2 separate regions of the Homo sapiens genome follow, and region 2 is linked to region 1. Evidence: promoter capture Hi-C in 16 types of primary human blood cells and fetal thymus (Javierre and others, 2016). All regions are on one chromosome and are shown on one strand. The core of a region is centred on a gene start or on the middle of the fragment in contact, and the rest is flanking DNA. Distances in the headings are between cores, read along the strand shown. Region 1 holds the start of NMRK1 (nicotinamide riboside kinase 1). Region 2 overlaps KLF9-DT (KLF9 divergent transcript).

Region 1 (3,629 bases), core at 1-2,500:
TGGGTTTTTTTTTTTTTTTTAAGACAGAGTCTCGCTCTGTTGCCAGGCTGGAGTGCAGTGGCGCAATCTCGGCTTACTGCAACCTCCGCCTTCTGGGTTCAAGTGATTCTCCTGCCCCAGCCTCCCGAGTAGCTGGGACTACAGGCGTCTGCCACCACGCCCGGCTAATTTTTTGCAGTTTTAGTAGAGATCGGGTTTCACCAGGTTGGCCAAGATGGTCTTGATCTCTTGACCTCGTGATCCACCCGCCTTGCCCTCCCAAAGTGCTGGGATTACAGACGTGAAGGGCTGGGGTTTTTGAAAACGCAATTCATGCCCCTCCCCCATTGGTTTCATTTATGTAGGTTCTTAGGTAAACAGTTTTTTCTTTCCCCAAATATACAATTAATTTACAATATTGACTGTTATTTTGAACTTATGCCATTGGCTTCCTTGTGTGCTCCAGTTCTTTCCTCCCACCGAAGATTCAATCCGATAGATCAGGGGTAGGAAAACTTTTTCTGTAAAGTGCCAGACAGGAAATGCTTTGGGCTTTGCCAGCTGCTACTCAACCCTGCTGGGTAATGCGAAAGCGGCCACAGAAAACACAGATGCAAATGAGCGTGACCGTGTTCCAGTAAAATTTTACGGACACTGAAATCGTAATTTCATGTAATTTTCACGTGTCACAAAGTATTATATTTCTTTTTATTTCTTTTCAGTCATTAAAAAAAGTAAAAAAAAAAAAAATTCTTAGCAGGCCTTACAGTAACAGGCAGCAGGCGGGCAGTAGGTCATCACCCCAACGCTAGAGGAATGAGACCATATCGATCCGCGAGGATCAAGTCCTGATCCTGTCCCTGGCGACTTCTCCAGGCTGCGCGGTCTCTTGGAGGCAGCGTTCCCATTTTCAGGATTATTCCGGGGCGCTAGAGCACCACGCCACCATGAGTACACGTCCTCCTCGGCAGGCCACCTATCAGCTCTGTGAGGGTGGCAAGAGTCCAGGCAAGGCTTTCAGGGCGCAACCAAGTCCCGGGCTCCAGCACAGAAACCCTCTGGAAACACCTCCAGGCCCCAGCAAGGCGGCGCGGCGCGGCAGGGGCGAGCAGGTACGCACTCACCTGGCGCCAGTTCGAGTCCTCCCAAACACAGCGGCAGAGGCGACAGCCAAGCGCGCGCCTGTACCCAGTGCGCCGCTACCCGCAGCTCGCTCCCCGAGAGGCCCACAGCCCCTTTCCCCACGCTCCTCCTGGGTTAGAGGGATGCCAGGTAGGGGCGGTCACCAGAGGCCCCTTTTCTCTACTCTCGGCGCCGGGTTCCAGCCCCCGTTGGGGCGGGGCGGGGCGGGGCGGGGCTCCGGCTAGCTTGGCCTCTTCCGCGCGCCCCTGCGCAGCTCCGGCCCTTCCCTATCGGGAGCGCGCGCGGCCCGCGGCACTGCACTGGCGCACGCCCGCTTCGCCCTCGCTCGGCTCCGGCTGGTTCCGCCGCCGTGCGCGCCGCCCGCGCTCCTGCTGCGGCGAAGCTGCCAGCCCGGGAGCCAATTAGCGCTCGGCTAGGCGGGGTCCACTTCCTCGTCGGCCCGGCGCGCGCTCTGGACTGCTCCGGCGGCCGCGGGGCGGGGCGGAGCACTCGGCGGAGCCGCTCTGCCTGCGTCCGCTCTTCCCGCAGCCAAGGGTGGGCGCCGGTCCTAGGAGGCGCACGGTTGTAAGCCAGACAAAAAGAACTGGGGTGCCCGGAGTGCCAGGTGGCGGGCAAGCGGTGGGCTTTTCGGCGGGGTCTTTAGGATTTGCAGCTCCAGGAAGCGAGATGTCGAAGCCGCCACCCAAACCAGTCAAACCAGGTGAGGGAGGTAAGGTAGGCGCTTGCCAGGTCCTGCGACCGCCGCGGTGCCGGCGCCTCCTCTGCAGCTTGGCAGGGAGGACCCGGCGCGCACCCGGCCCCGAGCCTGGCTTCCGAGATCGGCCCCACCGGGATGGGCGCTCTTAGTTTTGCGTTCGCTGTTACGGAGGAGGGATCGATTTTGATAGCAAGAGGATTTCGAGGATTAATATATATATATATATTTAAAGGGGAGTAGCCCTCACTTTTGCTACGTTGTCATTCGCTGAAACTTTCAGAGGGTGTGATGGCAACGTCCCATGGAAGTTTTCCGGAAAGACAGGGCCATTGATCTCCCTTTAAAAAATGTCATGAAATGATCTTTAGCCACTTCCTCTTTTCTCAGTGTTTGTCACTGTCAAGTTAGGGTTCCTGACCGGCCAGAGCGAACGGGAAGTGCAATCCCTGCAGGGTGGGGTGGGCGAGCGAGCCTCCCTCGGGACTTAAGCGTGGAGCAGCGTTTGAAATTGACCTCGGGATCTTGGGAAGAGCGTTTAGAAAAAAACCCTATACTCGCGCTCCTGGTGGAAAGAATCTAGGATGCGGCAGTGATCTCAGCTGTTGCTATTTGGAAGTGTCATTTTATCATCTCCTTTGCCTTTGCTCTCCCAAAGACGTTGGCGTGCTAAACCTGAGAGGGCTGAGATTACTAAATTCCTCAAAGCAGTTTTCTGGGCGGATTGTCCTTGTTCATTTTTGCTCTGTTCTTAGAATATTTTCTGTGATATGCAGAAATAAGATAATTGTAAAAGAAACTGACGTATTTTAATTAAAAGTTGTAACATACTGTTCCGCTCATTCATTTGGGTAGGTAATTAGAAAGGACTGACGTATTTCAATACTTTAACAACTCTTACGTGCATTCATTTGGGTAGGTAATTAAGGGAAATACAGGAAATGGAAGATAAATGGCTCCGATGTATTCTTGGGTTTTTTCTTCCCATAGTGTAATTTCGGTATAGCGAAATGCTGAAATTTAATCCATTTACGTCAAATTTTGAAGTAACTTTCTTTGCAAGAGATGAGTTTCAGTGATTACTTTTTTCCTTGATTTTCCTAAACTCTATAGCTTTCATACTTATCTAGTTTTGTTTCTTTGCGTTCCTGCAGTTGGAGTATGAAGTCCCTTTATTTGATAATCATGTACGTACGTATGTGGAATAGTGCTTCACTGAGGACTGACATCTTGGTGGGCTGAGTGTGAAGGAAGTTGCTGAGACTGGCTCTGCCCTGGGCAAAGATGGGGCACAGCTAGAGTTGGGTTCTGCATTGCATTAGATGTGGAATCTGATGAGAAATTTCCATTTTAAGTGCATATGTATGAGGTAGCTTTCTAAACTCAGGTGCAAATCAGGACCTTAAGTATCTAACAGTGCAGAGTTGTTCTTTGATAGCTAAACAATATTTTATTTATCTTATTTTTTTCTGATCACCTGCTGCCAGTTGAAATACGTTAAAGAATGCCCTTTTTAAAAATCTCTTCATGCGTATTAAATGCTGTCTATATTGCAAATGGAGGGACATTGACAGGTGTGTGTGTGTGTGTGTGTGTGTGTGTGTGTGTGTACACAGTAATGTATACATGTGGGTTCATTCACACTTGGGGGTTTAAGGGTCATCCTGTTACTAATTGTGGATACATTCCCAGGAACCTCCTTTCTCCTTCACATCAGAAAGCTTATGGTTAAACATGACAGGTGTTTAGAGGGAACTTTGCATTTTATTTTATTTTAATTTGTTTTATCTGGTCCTTGATTCAGGATAAAGGG
Region 2 (3,629 bases), core at 639-3,138, 4.7 Mb before region 1:
CTAGCGGGGAGTAAGGTACTTCCTGGCATATGCAGCACAGATTCCCAGGCCCCTCCCCTGGAGATTTTTATTCAAACTGTGCCCCAAGGCAGGGTTTCCCCACCTTGCAGGGTGGAGCTAATCACCTGGCGCTCGATTTAAAATACAGATTGCCGGGTGTCACCCCTGCTCAAGGACCAGGGAAGTTCAGGCTAAAATCACACTCTGTAGGTATTGGGTTCTGCCAGTTCTGGCTTTTCTCACTCTTTCCTGCTGGGAGGGGTGGACCGTGCCGGGCAGAACTGCCAGCCTCCAGGCGGGAAGGAAGGAGGAGAACAGATGGCCCACTGGGGGTAGAGGATCACGTGTTGGACCTCATTCTGGGCTGCATCCAGACCTCTCCCTTTCAGGGCCCAGCCCCTCCAGCTCCAGCGACCCCACCTAGGCACACGGAACATATGTGGAGGAAACCAGTGTTCATTTTGTTGAAAGCAGGGGAATTAGAGAAGGAGGCGAGCTTGAGGAGGGGAGAGGCTAAAGGGATAAAGCTTCCAACAATGGCGATGTTCCTGGATTTTGAAATACAATCAGGTAAAGCCCGATCTGGTGGAACGCCCGTGGCCATAATGACAGCTAACACCCAGGGGCTGGAGGGGGAAGGGCGCTCAGGCAAGCGCGAAAACTTGCACGCCGCCCTACTTTGCTCCCGCCCCACTTAGCAGCCTTCCGCAAAACTCCAGCCCTCTCCTCTGCAGCGCAGAAAGGCCGCCCGTTCATGCATATGCAGGAGGATAAGTTTAGCTCGCAGCCCCCCGCGCTCCGACCGGCCCAGCGCGGCACTCGGTGAATCACCCGCGCTCGGGGGCGGGCGCTCGGCTCCGGCCGCGGACTGGCGGGCGACTCAGCCACTCGTGGACCGCGCGCCCCGGCCTGGCATCGCCCTTTTAAAAAGTCTTCCGCAGGCGGCCGCCGCCGCAGCAGCCTGAGGAGGCGAGTTCATCTGAGGACAGTCCCAGTTCTCAGAAATCCCTTCCCTGCTGGAACATCAAGCTCCCTTTACTGCAGTTGAACAAACTGCCCTAGATTGGGGGACCAGGAACCCGCCCCAAACTCGTGCAAGGAGCTCCGGGCGCCCACGCCCACGTGAGCTAACCTTGAAATTAGCCCCTGCACCCGGGAGCGCGGGGGTGGGAGTGGGCGGGGACCGGGGGGGAGCCCCGCGCGGCCCAGGCCCTTGCTTTGCGCTCTCCGCGTGCACGTACCGCCCCCGCCACCCTGTTTCATAACTCTGGCGGTGTTGCATTTTTTTTTCTTTTAATCTCCCGGGTAGATGGGTGTGGGGTTCCTGTGTTGGGGAGAGGGCAGGGCACCTTGGCCACCTTCCATCCCCCACGCCCGCGAGGAAGAGGAAAACCTGCCCTGCGGTCCTCCTAGGAACACTGCAGAGTAGGGTGTCGAGATGACATCAGCTTCTAAACATAGCAAGCACCGCACCCCAACTCCATGGGCTGCGGGGGTGGGGAGGGAGTGGGGGAGGCGGGTGCTGCTGTCCCCGGGCGGGGCGTGGCGGGCAGGCCGGCCAGGCTGTGCGGGAGGAGATGACTTTGCAGGAATTGCGCTCCCAGAGTTTGCCGGCAGATCTCTCCCGCGATGGCCCGGCCAAGGGGTTAGGAAACATTCCTGCCATTCCGTGCTCTCCCCTACCCCACAAGAACCACACGCACGCACACACGCACTCTTGGATCGAATGTGCCTTTATTTATAAATCAATCCAGCCCCAGCCCAGGTTCGGTCCGGTCCCGGGAGCACCTGCGCCCCGCGTCTGCCTTCAGGCTAAGCCTGCGAGGGGTTCGGTGTGGCCCTCCCAGTGAGTCAGAATGGGCTGTGTTTCCTGTGGTTGTTGTGGAACAGTTTGTCCTTTTTACTCTCCGCCCCCCCCGCCCCGTCTCCACCCCCTTGGTAAATATAGCGCTCACGTTTCATCATCTCTTTGTCCAACGAGTGCCAGACACCCCGGCCCGCGGCCCCCGCCGCCTCCCTCCTCCTCTCCGCTCGGTTACCTCGCATAACCTCGCGCGGGCAGGCACCGGGCAGCAGCTCTCCCCGCGGCCGCGCCCGCCCGGCACCCAGCGCTTCCCGCCGCAGCACACCCCCAACCCATTCTCCCCTCCCCTTCTTCCAGTTCCCCCTTCTGTACGGCCCCCATGCTCTTGTCCCACCCCCTCTACTCGGCGTCCGGGTACTGGGTCGAGACGTGTGTAGGTGTAGGGAGGTGGATAGCCCTTTTCCGAGCCGTAGGCGTCACCCCTACGCCCAGGCCCAGGCCCAGTGCTGGATCCTGCACTTTCCCAACCTCCCCCTCCCAAGTTCCAAGGTTGCCCTCTGTTCCCCTCCCAAGCGCAGGTGACAAGCTGCTGAGACAGTGTCTGATTCACCGACAGCTGAACCAGCTACTGGTACTTGGAGGTGGGCGTTTGCTGAACTGTTTTCCTCCCACCTCCCCCAACCCCCTACCCCGGTGGGGAGCGGGCTGGAGGGTCGGAAGAGGCAAGGTGGATGACAGCCGAGAAGTGCGTGCCCGCTCTTCCCTCTCTCCCTCCTCCTCCCAGTTTCATTTCCACACATACAGCCACCCACCGGGGACCGGAGGCGGCTAGTGTTCTCTGAACGCCGGGAACTGGCTCTCTCTGTGGTCTCCTGTTTACTTCCCTCCTCCTCTTTTCCCCTCCCTTCTCCCCGCCCCCATCTCCCGGCGCCGCTTCCCGCCCAGAGCAGCTGGGAAACCTGCAGCTGAACACTGCAGTCATGGGACTTCCCTGGCCCCGAGCTGTGCCCCAGGTTTGCCCTGTCCTGTCCTGCCTTGCCCTGTGTCCGCTTTTTGGGGGGCACTTATTTGTCCTGAAAAGGGTCTTAAGGCTCCCTATCCAGGAACGTGGAAGAGGTGACTGCTTCCCTCCCCCTTCCTCTCCTCCTGACTCCCCTGCCAGCTACCTTCCTGTGGGGGCCCTGCCTGGCTGTCTTTTTTGGCCAGGATTCTGGGCCACCCCCACGAGTGGCCACCTGTCCAGGGAGAAGTGGTGAGACAGCTAACGGTGTGTAAGAACTCTGCATCCAGGATGCTGCAGAGCTGGCTTCTTTGCCATCACAGACTGTCCTGTTCGTAACAGGGTGCCCAAAATTCTCTGCCGACCAAGGTTTTCAGGCAGAACCCCAAAACCTGCTCCTAGGGACACACCCTCTCCTTATGGAGTCTGGCAAAACCTTTCCTTTCAAAGCTTGCTTCACAGCGGGGAAGAATGCAGGCTCTCTCCCTAAGTAAGCTGAATGAACAAAGGACTCCAAGGAGGCCGTGGGGGTTCCAGCTCTGGGTGCCGCCTGCCTGAAGTTCACCCCATTTAAAAACCACCTCTTCACCACCACCCTCTGCTCCACTGCCATGGTTACCAGCTCCCTGTCCTTCCCAGCACAATGTTGCACAGAGGCAGAAACAAACAAGGACATTTAAAATGTTCTTTTAAATACCCAAAACACTGCCTTGGTATTTTGGTAGCAGAGAAGAGGGAATAAAAGTCCTGACTGTTTGCTGGTTTCCTTCTGACCCCACGACCCTGAAAAAATCCTTACCCTGGATGGCCTCTCAGCTGCCAAAA

What was found. The method cuts DNA at HindIII sites, captures the fragments that hold promoters and counts their contacts. A CHiCAGO score of 5 or more calls a contact.
Region 2: a fragment that was not itself captured here is called in contact with the fragment with the promoter of NMRK1 in region 1 in 2 of 17 cell types (total B cells and total CD4 T cells); the score reaches 5.8 in total B cells.

The regions. Positions count from the first base shown.
Region 1 is chr9:75,086,905-75,090,533 of GRCh38, forward strand. It overlaps NMRK1 (nicotinamide riboside kinase 1), which reads right to left and starts at 1,251. Exons shown (of 9, transcript NM_017881.3): 1 at 1,104-1,251. OSTF1 (osteoclast stimulating factor 1) reads left to right here and starts at 1,610. Exons shown (of 10, transcript NM_012383.5): 1 at 1,610-1,822. The coding sequence starts at 1,789. RefSeq lists silencers at 1,121-1,720, 1,911-2,000. The HindIII fragment of the contact is 4,153 bases long and covers 1-3,535 here.
Region 2 is chr9:70,418,242-70,421,870 of GRCh38, forward strand. All of the region lies in intron 1 of KLF9-DT (KLF9 divergent transcript), which reads left to right. Among named protein-coding and RNA genes, the nearest start is that of KLF9, 5.4 kb to the left of the region's middle. RefSeq lists an enhancer at 564-1,285 and silencers at 723-1,032, 1,133-1,182, 2,113-2,202. The HindIII fragment of the contact is 2,727 bases long and covers 526-3,252 here.